Regions from separate parts of the Homo sapiens genome. Here region 2 is linked to region 1. The links are contacts of gene promoters, found by promoter capture Hi-C in blood cells and fetal thymus (Javierre and others, 2016). All regions are on one chromosome and are shown on one strand. Each heading gives the region's core, a stretch centred on a gene start or on the middle of the fragment in contact. The rest is flanking DNA. Distances are from core to core; before and after follow the strand shown.

The links. The method cuts DNA at HindIII sites, captures the fragments that hold promoters and counts their contacts. A CHiCAGO score of 5 or more calls a contact.
Region 2: a fragment that was not itself captured here is called in contact with the fragment with the promoter of LINC01426 in region 1 in 8 of 17 cell types (monocytes, total B cells, naive CD8 T cells and 5 more); the score reaches 7.3 in monocytes.

Annotation. Positions count from the first base shown.
Region 1 is chr21:34,743,212-34,749,412 of GRCh38, forward strand. It overlaps LINC01426 (long intergenic non-protein coding RNA 1426), which reads left to right and starts at 2,614. Exons shown (of 3, transcript NR_038885.1): 1 at 2,614-2,805. LOC107985515 (a long non-coding RNA gene) reads left to right here. Exons shown (of 3, transcript XR_001755016.1): 3 at 1-727. RefSeq lists enhancers at 2,493-2,994, 2,995-3,494, 3,701-3,995. The HindIII fragment of the contact is 11,220 bases long and covers 1-6,201 here.
Region 2 is chr21:35,825,367-35,831,567 of GRCh38, forward strand. No RefSeq gene overlaps it. Among named protein-coding and RNA genes, the nearest start is that of MIR802, 110 kb to the left of the region's middle. The HindIII fragment of the contact is 3,595 bases long and covers 432-4,026 here.

The sequences.
Region 1 (6,201 bases), core at 1,364-3,863:
TTTTCCACGATGCCTTCCCCTCTGAGCCCTGTATAACCCAATAGTGCAAATATTCCCACATCCCCTACCCACAACAGGGGTGAGCACATTGCAAATGTTCCGCCGGCGAATCAGCACCTGCCTGGAGGTGTTCTTGGTGTCTGCGTCCTGCCTCCAGTACAGAGGACCTCAAATCCATGATACTTCACCTGGTGCTCCCCAGGAAAGCCTGGCAGAGGACCTGACGATTCCCAGCAAGACCAAGCACTGCTGTCCAGGGTCAGCCACGGTCACTTCTCTGCAGCTGTCATCCGGGCACAATCTCCAAATATTTCTAGCCATTCAGACGTTCACTATAATCAGAATTAACGCATGTAGAACCAAAGAGCCAGACACATGGGTTCAAACCTGCCCCACCATTTACAGTGAGAGCTTAGTGAGTCACTTAACCTGTGCCTCAGTTTTCTCACCTGTAAAAAGAACATAACAGTAACAATACCATTGAGCTGCTATGCAGTGGATGAGCTTCTATATGAAAGGTGAGTGAAAAGTGTCTGGATGTGGTGGTGTCAACCTTTCCCTGGGGTGGTGGTGGCTGATCTGTGGCACCCCACATGACAATGTCTTTGCCATGGCAGTAGATGCTGTTAAATCAGGCCCTGGGTTTGTCTTGGCTTGACTTGTTTCCATTTTCAATTGAAAATTAAATGTGGATAGACTTCAGCCTGACTCGGTCTGCTCCCTGGACCTTGGCCAGTGAGTTCTGAGTAACTGCAGACAGGGTGTGGTCACCGGGATTTGGTTATTGGATTTTTTTCCCCCTGTGGTTTTGGGCAGGTTGCTCCATGACGGGCAGCTGTATCGTCTTAGAACCGGACTTTCCGGGAGAGCCTTTGGGTCACTCTGGGCGTCAGCTGGAAAGGGCTGCTCTTGGAGCAAGCTCACTGGCCCACAGGAGGAGCTGCCTTCTTGAACTGTCACCCTGAAGCCAACCAAAGTCTGGGCAACGCCAGCTCCAGTGACTGCCGCTCCATCTCCTAGGCAATTTGCATCGCTGTTTCTGTTTGTTAGGCCTTGACCATTCCTTTGTTGTCATCCTGCGCTTCCCTGGCCATAGGCCTTTTCCCAGCCCCACCACGGCATGCCCACCTGTGCTTGGGGAGGGGCGGAGGAAGGAGCCCCAGCCAGCCATGTCCCTGTTTCGTGCTCCAGTGACCACTGCTATGAGGACTTTCCCACTGGCTCAGGCTCAGTTAGTCGAGCTGGTGTGCCCCGCTCTTAGCTGTTCCCCAACTCTCCTAGAGTGTGCTAATTCTGACCCAGCTCTCCCAGGTGGAGGATGCTTTTCAAACATGTCCTTGGGAACCTCTGCAGACCCATTCCCAGCCCATTCTCCATGATTCCAGGCCTGGCCAGGTTGAAAACTTCTGTAAATTAAAACTCAAATAAAGAGAGTATAGCTTGGGCATACCTTTTGCACATGCATATATATGTATGTGTGTGCATGTGTGTGTGTGCATGTATGTGTGTGCATGTATGTGTGTGCATGTGTTGGGATTTTTTATTTTTTAAATTTATATTTATTAAAAAAATTTTTTTTGAAACAAGGTCTTCTTCTGTCTCCCAGGCTGGGCTGCAGTGGTGTGATTATGGCTGACTGCAGCCTCAAACTCCTGGGATCAAGCAACCCTCCCACCTCAGCCTCCCAGAGCACTGGGATTACAGGTTTGAGCCACTGCACCTGGCCTATTTAAAAAGTTTGTCTAGAGCAAAAAGTCCCTAGACCTGCCAGTCCAGGGCACTAAATCACAAGAACACCAAGGCCAAACAGGCTTGAAGTCTCCAGGCTCCTCACTGGCAAACTCTACTTCCTGATCCCTTAGTGGGTTGAGGTGCCAACAGCCCCCTGGGGAGGAGGGGGTTGCATTATGGCCGTGGAGAGACTCTGAGCCTTATCAACGGTGTGGGGATGACACCCTTTTCGGAGCACTTTGTGAGGCTTTGTGCCATGCTGGGCGCTTGGCGTCAGAGACAAATAGAATCAATAACTGTGCAAAAAAAGTTGCCAGATAATTTATCCCATTGGCACCGAGCCTAGAATTATAATCAGATCTTGACTTCTTCAAAGCCTTCTTGCTTTGGATTTTCCAAATCGAAAATAAATATTGGGGGCAATTACCTTTCCTTAGTTCTCTGATGTATGAAGGGGAGTTTTCATCTATTAATTTAAGAACCCTCTCATTTCATTCGGAAGGTATTAGCCCATGGAACTTGTTAACTTAATATCAACACAGTCTGTCTAGGTTTTGACTGAAAAGAGAAAGGGGTTGTTATGCTCTAGGTTAATATTTTCCTCTCTTTAAGAAGTCTTGGGTATGCCAGACACTTCTCGGACAAAAACAGCTGTTTTCTTCCCATTGCTGAACGCATTGTTTGTGCGAGTTCACTTACTTGCTATACTCAGAATATCCTCCAGGAGTCAGCAAATCCCAACCTCTGGACGTGGCTCAGGGCCGCCCTGCCCATTGCTGAGCTGATTTGGAATTTGGGCCTGAGAGAGGAAGTGATTATTGGATGACAGGCTGCCTCCTAGGGGGCTTCTCTGGGCTTGCCATGAAAGCACTTCCGGAGGAAAAGCAGAGCTCCATCAGTCTCTTTTGGAGAGCTGTGAACGTGACCAGACCTATTAATTACTTAACTGAGGTGCTGAACTTTGAAAATGAAAGTTCCGGTGGGGAGTTCTGTCCTTTCCAGCCTGGGGAGCTCTGTCAGGGCTCTCCTGAGCGTCTCTTTCAGCTTATCAAGCTCGCTCGGGGACCGTCTCTGGTAAGTACAGGCAACCCCTCCAGCCAACCCCTCCACCCTGTGGGCCGGGGAAGTGTCTCATCGTTGAATCCACTTGCAGGCACTTCCTTGATCTCAAGCCCCACCACGCTGCCCCCAGAGTCCCAGCGAGTGGCTCAGTCACACTGGTGCGTGCCTCTCACCCGCTCTGACCTCGTCATGGGGTCCCCGAGGTGCTGGTTCATGCAAGGCTCTGTGCCTAACCAAGCTAAACACGGTGGGGCTGGGAGCAGAGGCTCACACCTGTAATCCCAGCACTTTGGGAGGCCAAGGCAGGTGGATCACCTGAGGTCAGGAGTTTGAGACCAGCCTGACCAACATGGTAAAACCCCGACTCTACTGAAAATACAAAAATTAGCCAGGCGTGACATCATGCGCCTGTAATCCCAGCTACTCGGGAGGCTGAGGCAGGAGAATCGCTTGAACCTGGGAGGCGGATGTTGTGGTGAGCCAAGGTCGTGCCACTGTACTCCAGCCTGGGTGACAGAGGGAGACTCCATCTCAAAAATAAATAAATAAACAAACTGGTACAGTGCCCTAGTGGCTTTGTGGCTCTGGCTGGGGGAGGAGGGTGGGTTGCATAACTGAGCAGCACCTCCAAGCACGATACCAACACTGCCCAGGGCCTGGCAGAGTCTACAGCTGGTCCTTATCCATGAAACTGGGGGTGAGGGGACGGGGACTGGCGGGGGGACAAATCACCTGCACAAGTGGAACAAAGATACAGGAGATAATGACAGCAAATGGAACGTAGAGTTGATGCGTTCATTGACAAAGAATTTCACACCCTGCATTATCTCACTTGAGCCCCATGAAGAGCCTGTGAGGTGGCTAGGGATGTGGAAGGAGTAGATAGGAGAGGCACAGAACAGGGGAAGGAAGGAGTGGGGCTGGGAGTGAGGACCAGGAAGGCAGAGCTGGCCCCTGGACAGGAAGAAAGCCCAACTGCCTCCCTCCCTCCCATCTGCCCTCCTGCCTGCCCTTTTCCAATAAGATGGAAATGCTGAAGGGGTTAAAAAGACAGCATTCTAAAAGCTGAGATCCTAAAATTGTGACCTCCCCTGTGATCTTAGCCTTCGTGTCAACAGCATTGAAAATGAACCTTGGTCGGGCACGGTGGCTCACGCCTGTGATCCCAGCACTTTGGGAGGCCGAGGCGAGTGGATCACCTGAGGTCAGGAGTTCAAGGCCAGCCTGGCCAACATGGTGAAACTCTGTCTCTACTTAAAAAAAAAAAAAATTGCCGGGCATGGTGGTGGATACCTGTAATCCCAGCTACTTGGGAGGCTGAGGCAGGATAATTCCTTGAACCCAGGAGGCAGAGGTTGCAGTGAGCTAAGATTGTGCCACTGCACTCCAGCCTGGGCAACAAGAGTGAAACTCTGTCTCAAAAAAAAAAAAAAAGGCAAAAAGAAAATGAACCCCTGGGAAAGTAGGCCTTGACCACTCTGCTGCTCTTATGGAGTTCATTCTTGGAGATGTCGTGAATAGATCTCCTTTGCATCCAGATGGAAGAGCAACAGGAACATTATTAAGAAACTAAAAATTCTAGATTCATTGGAAAAGGCTTTGAGAGAGAAGGGACAGGGAAACCCCTAATTCCACCTCCCTGAAAACAGTGTGTTTTCCTCTCCTACACCAGGGCCGTGTGTCTTTCTGTCTACGTGGCCCAGCCACATTTGTAGCCCGTGGCCTGATGGAGCTCTGATGAGTCAGTTTCATGTCATTTTTTTTTTTTTTTTTCAGAGAGAGAGTCTCACTCTGTCACCCAGGCTGGAGTGCAGTGGCATGATCTCGGCTCACTGCAACCTCCGCCTCCTGGGTTCAAGTGATTCTCCTGCCACAGCCCCTTGAGTAGTTGACGTTACAGGCACCCACCACCGCACCCAGATACTTTTCGTATTTTTAGTGGAGACGCTGTTTCACCATGTTGGCCAGTTGGTCTCGAACTCCTGACCTCAAGTGATCTGCCTGCCTTGGCCTCCCTATGTGCTGGGTTATAGGCGTAAGCCACTGTGCCCTGCTTCATGTCATTTTTAAAGAGCCCACACAACTCCTGTAGCTGCATTACGACAACCTCAACGGCAAGACCTCGACGTGATATTACTCCACGTGAAAGTCTAAAAGGCGCTGAGCACAGTGCTCTGCCAATGGTGTGTCTTCCAGCCTCGCTTGCTGAGAGAACAGATGTGCCGGGGAAGAAATGGACAAAGCTGGGAAAGGAGTCTAACTTCTTCAAAGCGGTTGGGCACCGGTGAGGCTCTTTTGGTTACAAACCACAGAAATGGATTCTGGTTTATCAGTTTAATCTCGGTGTAACTAAAAGTGGGAAGTACTGGAAGGAGACGCATTTCATGGGCTCAGAGGTGACCTTGGGGCACTGAGTTGGCCCTTCTGTGGCCAGGTGTCCCTCTCTCGGGGACCTGCCTTCCCATGCCCCAGTCTCAACTCTTGGTGTCTGTCTAATCTCAAACTCCCAAGAGACTGGATTGGATTAGATCAGTGTGGTGTAGCAAGAGGCACTGTGTGTGTGTGTGTGTGTGTGTGTGTGTGTGTGTGTGTGTGGTGTCATTAGGGAGATCTCAGAGAACAACCACCTTGGCCAACTTGTCTATCTCACGCCAGACGTTTTCACCCATCGTTCTGTCCAACCCTACATAATCCTGCCAGGGGGCTATCAGTTTTTTGTTTATGTTGAACGCTAAACTCAGCAGGAAAGAACACTGCTTTCTGGGATTTTCTTCATTTAAACCTCTATTGCCTATGAGAACAGTGTATTTTCTTTAAGGGCTACCAGGTTTTCTATTAATAGAAAATTAAAAAAATAGTGAGAAGTACCAAGAACAAAATTAACATCACCCATCATCCACCATTCAGACAGAAAAATGGTCCCCTTTGACTGATGTTCATCAGCTATATAAATCTCTACACACACACATATACACCCATACCTACTTTGAAGTAAAAATTATGAAGAGCACATTGTTTTGTGACCTTTCTCTTCACGTGCCGTGTTCTCCATTCTGTTAAATATTCACTTCCATCTTTTTAAATGGGTGCTTAATAAACTTTGACTCATACATGTTGCAAAATTTGTTTAATCAGCCCTCCATTGTCGCTTATTTAGGTGCTTCAAATTTTTTGCTGTTATTAGCACTGAAGTGATAATCATTCTGGAAAAAGTATCTTTATACATCTGTTGGATTCTTTCCCCAGGATAAAATTCTACAAGTGAAAATGCTGGGTTAAAGGATGCCCATGAAAACATTTTTAGATAAGCAGAATCCAATGCTCTTCTGAAACATTGTACCATGTGTCTTCTCCACCCAAGGGAACACTCAGTATCACTTAATTACAAAATATTTTTATAGTTTATAT
Region 2 (6,201 bases), core at 979-3,478, 1.1 Mb after region 1:
GGTTTTTAGGTGGTCCTGGATGCCAGCTAAGGATGATGGATTGCCCCCTAAACAGAAACGAGGGTCAGTGAAGATATCTGATCCAGGGCATAACAAACTGCAACAAGTCTACAGGGTAATGGCAGCACTGGGCCAAAGAGCTGTCTGTGATGGTGAATACTGAGCGTCAACTTAATTGGATTGAAGGATGCAAAGTATTGTTCTGGGTGTGCCTGTGAGGGTGTTGCCAAAGCAGATTAACATTTGAGTCACTGGACTGGGAAAGTCAGACCCACCCCCAATCTGGGTAGGCACCATCTAATCAGCTGCCAGCACGGCCAGAATAAAAGGCAGAAGAACATGGAAAGACTAGACTGGTTTAGTCTTCTGGCCTCCGTCTTTCTCCCATGCTGGATGCTTCCTGCCCTCAAACACTGGACTCCAAGTTCTTAAGCTTTAAGACTTGGACTGGCTTCCTTTCTCCTCAGCTTGCAGATGGCCTATTGTGGGACCTCACCCTTGTGACTGTGTGAGTCAACACACCTTAATAAACTCTCCTCTCTATATACATCTATCCTATTAGTTCTGTCCCTCTAGAGAACCCTGACTAATATGCTGTCCTAACACATCATGTGCTGATTATTCCTCGTTTTAAAAAATTGGAGAACAAAATGATCAGATGCTGATCTTCATTTTGAAAACCTCTTTTGAATGTGCTGCCTCCCTGGTATGATCTGGATGCTTGCCAGGGTGGTCTGGAGACCTCAGTCTGTTTGCTCTCCCGGGAAAAATCATGGTCACCCACTGACTTCCTCTTTTCTCACAAATAGAGGACAAGGTAGTTCTTCTGTTGTAGGTTTCATCGGGAATTTATTAATCCCCCTCCCGGAGGTGTTAGCATTTCAGTCTTGTGCCCAGCCATCTTGCAGTATTGAGAGTGGAATACAGGGTAAGTCATATCCTCAACAGTCCTTGCCAAGAACACCAAAATCTTAGCCTGTGGGTAATAATCTAAGTCTTCTTAATCTAAGTCAAAATTACCCTTTCCATCTAAACATAATACCAGCCTCTCTAAAAAAGGGCAAGCTGACCCGGTGTGGTGGCTCACGCCTGTAATCCCAGCACTTCGGAAGGCCGAGGTGGGCAGATCACCTGAGGCCAGGAGTTCAAGACCAGCCTGGCCAATATGGTGAAACCCTGTCTCTACTGAAAATACAAAAAATTAGACAGGCATGGTGGCAGGCGCCTGTAATCCCAGCTACTCAGGAGGCTGAGGCAAGAGAATTGCTTGAACCTGGAGGTGGAGGTTGCAGTAAGCCAAGATCATGCCACTGCACTCCAGCCTGGGAACAGGAGCGAAACTCCGTCTCATAGAAGAAAAAAAAAGCAAGTTTTGTCCCATCAGGGGCTGACGCAGACACAGGGACCAAAGCCCAGCCACCTCCTGGGACTCTCTGCTGTCAAACAGGAAGGTACAGATCTTTCTCCACCCATGCTCTGTGATGCCAAACTCTATTATAAAACATTTACTGGAGAAGGGTATCAAACGGGAATTTATTTCTATCACAAACAGCACTCAAATATTTCCCAGATAGTTTCTGCAATCAGTCATGTGCACCTTTTCAAAGTTTTAAATGTTTCCAAACTTTTTGGAAATGTATAGTGATTGATACAGGCCTTTAAGTTTAGTATTACTGCTCATGCCACATTTTCACCTGATTTCCAGTCTTTTGTGGTATTCTTGATTGGTAAGTCATTTGATTTTATCTTTTATTAAGGGCCTTTGAATTTAGCACAATGCTGAAATGATTCATCAATCATAATAAAAGACTTCAAAGGGATCCAAGCTAAACTTCAGGATTCTGAGGAGCATACTGGACAGTGAACTTATTGTATTTCAACTTCAGGACAATAAGCCTGGTGGAGGATTTTGCTCTAAAGACATAATGAGTATGTTAGTCACATCTAAAAATCATCTGCTGTCCGCATGTTCAGATTCATATATATGTGTATATATATAAATATAATATACACACATATGTGTGTGTGCATTTCATCTGACATTCATTTATTCTGTAGCAAGATATGTTTTAGGCTATTCTTTTCTACTGATCCATTCCCTGAGCATCAGAGGTCACTGTAAATGAAAAACAAGGTGAACTCCCTTGGGTGGGAGCCATGCTTGGCCAAATCCAGAGAAACTGTGTGGTGCTTAATTCCAGCTTAGTCTACATAGGCCCTAGTTTGAAACATAAAGTTGAAATCCATCAAGCAATTGTTTTCAAATCAACATTTCGGAAACATTTTTCAGTCATACTTACATGAATTCAAAATGTTTTCAAAGTATTGAGTGTTTTGCTGTATTACATTTGTAAAAAGGCAAAAGATAATCAGTGTGTGTTGATAATGTTAATAGAGATTTTAGAAATGATGATAGTGAAGTTTAAAAAAGGAACACCAACCAAACATAAAGAACTCTCTTTTCAAAATATCAATTTAAAATACAGGATCTCCCATGGCTTACAATGGACTCAGTAGTGAGGCACACAAACAGCAGTAAAACACATCTCTAAGGCATCCAGAAGAAAATAGATAACTAAATATCCATAATGCTGGCCAGACTGTGATACATAGCAAAATAGAAGTATTTATTCTGTAGCAAGAGATGGAGGCTGCAAAGGAAAATGCACTCTGTTCTCACTAGGGGAATCTGGAGGCTCTATACATGGTAGTTTTAATTTTTTTTTTTTTTAAACACCAGGCTGGAGTGCAGCGGTGCTATCATGGCTCACTGCAGCCTCGACCTCCAGGGCTCAAACGATTCTGTCATCTCAGCCTCCCAAGTAGCTGAGATTACAGGCGCCCACCACCACACCTGGTTAGTTTTTGTATTTTAGCAGAGTTGGGGTTTTGCCATGCTGCCCAGGCTGGTCTCCAACTCCTGGGCTCAGGTGACCCATCCATATTTGATTGTATCTTTTATTGAGGGCCTTTGAATTCAGCACAATGCTGAAATGACTCATCAATCATAAAAAAAGACTTTAAAGGGAACCAAGGTAAACTTCAGGATTCTGAAGAGCATATGGGACAGTTTCTTGTATTAGACTCCATCTCCAGCCTCCCGAAGTGTTGGGATTACAGGCATGAGCCACCATGCCTGGCCGGTAGTTCCATTTAAATTAGCTCATAAAAGGTAGGTAAGATTTCAACAACCAGGGAAGAAGACCTCAGTCAAGAACAATATGGCCATAGACTAAAGGCGTGAGACTGGATGGCACAGCTCTGAGGCAGGGTGTCTGGGGACTGAGAGCACCTGTTGCTAAGGTGATAAATTAAGATCAGATTGTAAATAGCTCCAAATGCCATGCTAAAGTGAACATTTCTCTGCAGGACACGGGTCCGGAGAAGGTTTTGAACAAAGCACTTTAGACAGATGAATCTGAGGGTAACCCTAAAGACAACATGGAAGCTGGAGAAAGAGGAGGAAAGATTCTCTAAGAGATAAATGCACTGGCTTACACAAAAAGCAGGTGGGCTTACACCTGGAAGGTAATGATGGAAACAAAAAAGAATAACCAAAATTCAGTAGTATGTCAATATCTGGTAACTGACACCATCTGGAATGAGGGGAAATGATTCAAGACTTTCCAACTGGGACAGGTGGAGAGAGAGGGGTGTAATCTAGGAAGATGGAAAATGCAAGAGCAAATCAGATTCTGAAAACAATTAAGTAATTCCTGATTCCTTTCAAATAAAAGGTGAGGCCTGATGTGAGTCTTAAAGTCTTAAAGTTCACTGGTTAAAGGGAAAACAGTGGGGGAGGGAAGCACAGTCCAGCAGGATGCAAACAGGTGAGCAAAGCCACAGGTTAGAACATGGAAGCTGTCGAGGAAGGCAAGAAAAGGGGAAGGAGGCATAAAGCTGGGCCACGTGCCAGGACCAGTGAGAGGGTGACCATGAAAAATCAGTAACAAGATCGGTGACCACTTAGACGTAGAGGATAGAGGTGTGGGGGCAGGGTGGACTGAGAAAGTCTCTCAGGTTTCAAGCTTAAGTGACTCCAGGGCTTTTGTGCCCACATTTAAAACGGAGAATAGATGTGAACAATCAAGGAAAAATGACTGATGCTGAGTTTAAGGCACCTGGGAGACGGGGGATAATTGCTTCCCAGAGACAGAGGTGCAGCGCCAAACCTGGGGAAAGGAAGACCCAGTTTAAAGATAAAAGGGTTGTTACCCTTTAGACAGCAAATAAAAACACGTGTGTAGCTGGTATCACTTTGAAAAGGGAAGAAGGAAAGCCCACAGATCTCTCTACAGACAAGACAACCAACGACTAAAAACCATTTAGATTAAAAGAAAAGAAATAATCTTACAGTAATGTTGTAAAGAGGTATTAACATCAAAAGACTAACTAGAACTAACATCAACAGCAGAAAGGACAATTTATAGCCTTATTCATTAGCATGCTGCTTACTGTTCCACTGACAATTTTAACCACCGGGTTAAGCAAAATCTTTGCCTTCCTTTTTTTTGCTTTTTGAGACGGAGTCTCACTATGTCACCCAGGCTGGAGGGCAGTGGCACGATCTCGGCTCACAACCACCCGGGTTCGAGCAATTCTCCTGCCTCAGCCTCCCGAGTAGCTGGGATTACAGGTGTGCACCACCACACCCAGCTAATTTTTGTATTTTTAGTAGAGACGAGGTTTCACCATGTTGGCCAGGCTGATCTCGAACTCCTGACCTCAGGTGATCCACCTGCCTTGGCTTCGCAAAGTGCTGGGATTACAGGTGTGAGCCACCATGCCCACCCAATCTTTGCCTTTCATTAAAGTCATGAATTTCCTGCCATCAATGGAAATGTCTTTTGATGACCACATGGATATCAGGAGCGATGCATCCTGCTTTCTGTCCCCATGTTCCAGTGCAATCAATGTTTTACACATCAAACATTCCAGTGGAGAATGGAACTCGTAGAACAAATTAGAAAATATTCATCTAATGATCTATCCAAAGATAAGGAAGGTCTTGATACTACAATTCTGTTAAATTCTGTTAAATAAAGTTTAAGAGTGTAGGTGTCCTTTATTAACAAAATCCTTACCTTTGGAAAATGGTCTCTTTTTTTTACAGAGCTGGTGAAACACACCAGGCTAACTTCTTGTCACCAGGATTCATCCATAAAACTTTTGTGGGTTCCCACTGAGCAGCCCTTGGAGCCCCCTCTTGAGACTCTCATAAATGTAGAAAGTGTTCTCATTGTTCAAATCCCACTTACAAGTGAGAACATGCAGTGTTTGGTTTTCTGTTCTTGTGTTAGTTTGCCAAGGATGACATATATACCATGGAATACTATGATAGTCCATAGTCCCTGCAAAGCACATGATCTCATTCCTTCTTATGGCTGCACAGTATTCCATGTGTATATGTACCACATTTTCTTTATCCAGTCTATCACTAATGGGCATTTGGGTTGGTTCCATGTCTTTGCTATTACGAATAGTGCTGCAATGAGAGCATCAGGACAAATAGCTAATGCATGTGGGGCTTATAACCTAGGTGACACGTTGATAGGCACAGCAAACCACGATGGCACACATATACCTATGTAACAAACCTGCACGTTCTGCACATGTACCCCAGAACTTAAAGTAAAATAAGAGAAGGAAAATGGTAAAAGGAAAAAAAAAAAAAAAAAGAGGCTGGGCGTAGTGGCTCATGCCTGTAATCCCAGCACTTTGGAAGGCCAAGGCAGGCAGATCATGAGGTGAGGAGTTCAAGACCAGCCTGGCCAATATGGTGAAAGCCCGTCTCTACTAAAAATACAAAAATTAGCCAGGCATGGTGGTGCATGCCTGTAATCCCAGCTGCTCGGGAGGCTGAGGCAGAAGAATCACTTGAACCCAAGAGGCAGAGGTTGCAGTGAGCCAAGACCGTGCCATTGCACTCCAGCCTGGGCAACAGAGCGAGACTCCACCTCTAAAAAGAAAAAAAGAAAAAAAAGAAAGTGAATGACACTAGCTTACATGGGTGCTCTCTGAGGAGCCAAAACCACATTTAGCAGAAGCCTGAGAAATGCAGCACCTCAGTCAACTCCAAGAAGCACCGCAGCCCAGCAAGATCTGCCAGGAGCTCTCCCTCCTGAAGCTCCACGCAACAATGCACAGCTAGAAACTTTTGGTCTTCAGTTATCAAATGGAGCAACCAGTGTAACCAAAGTC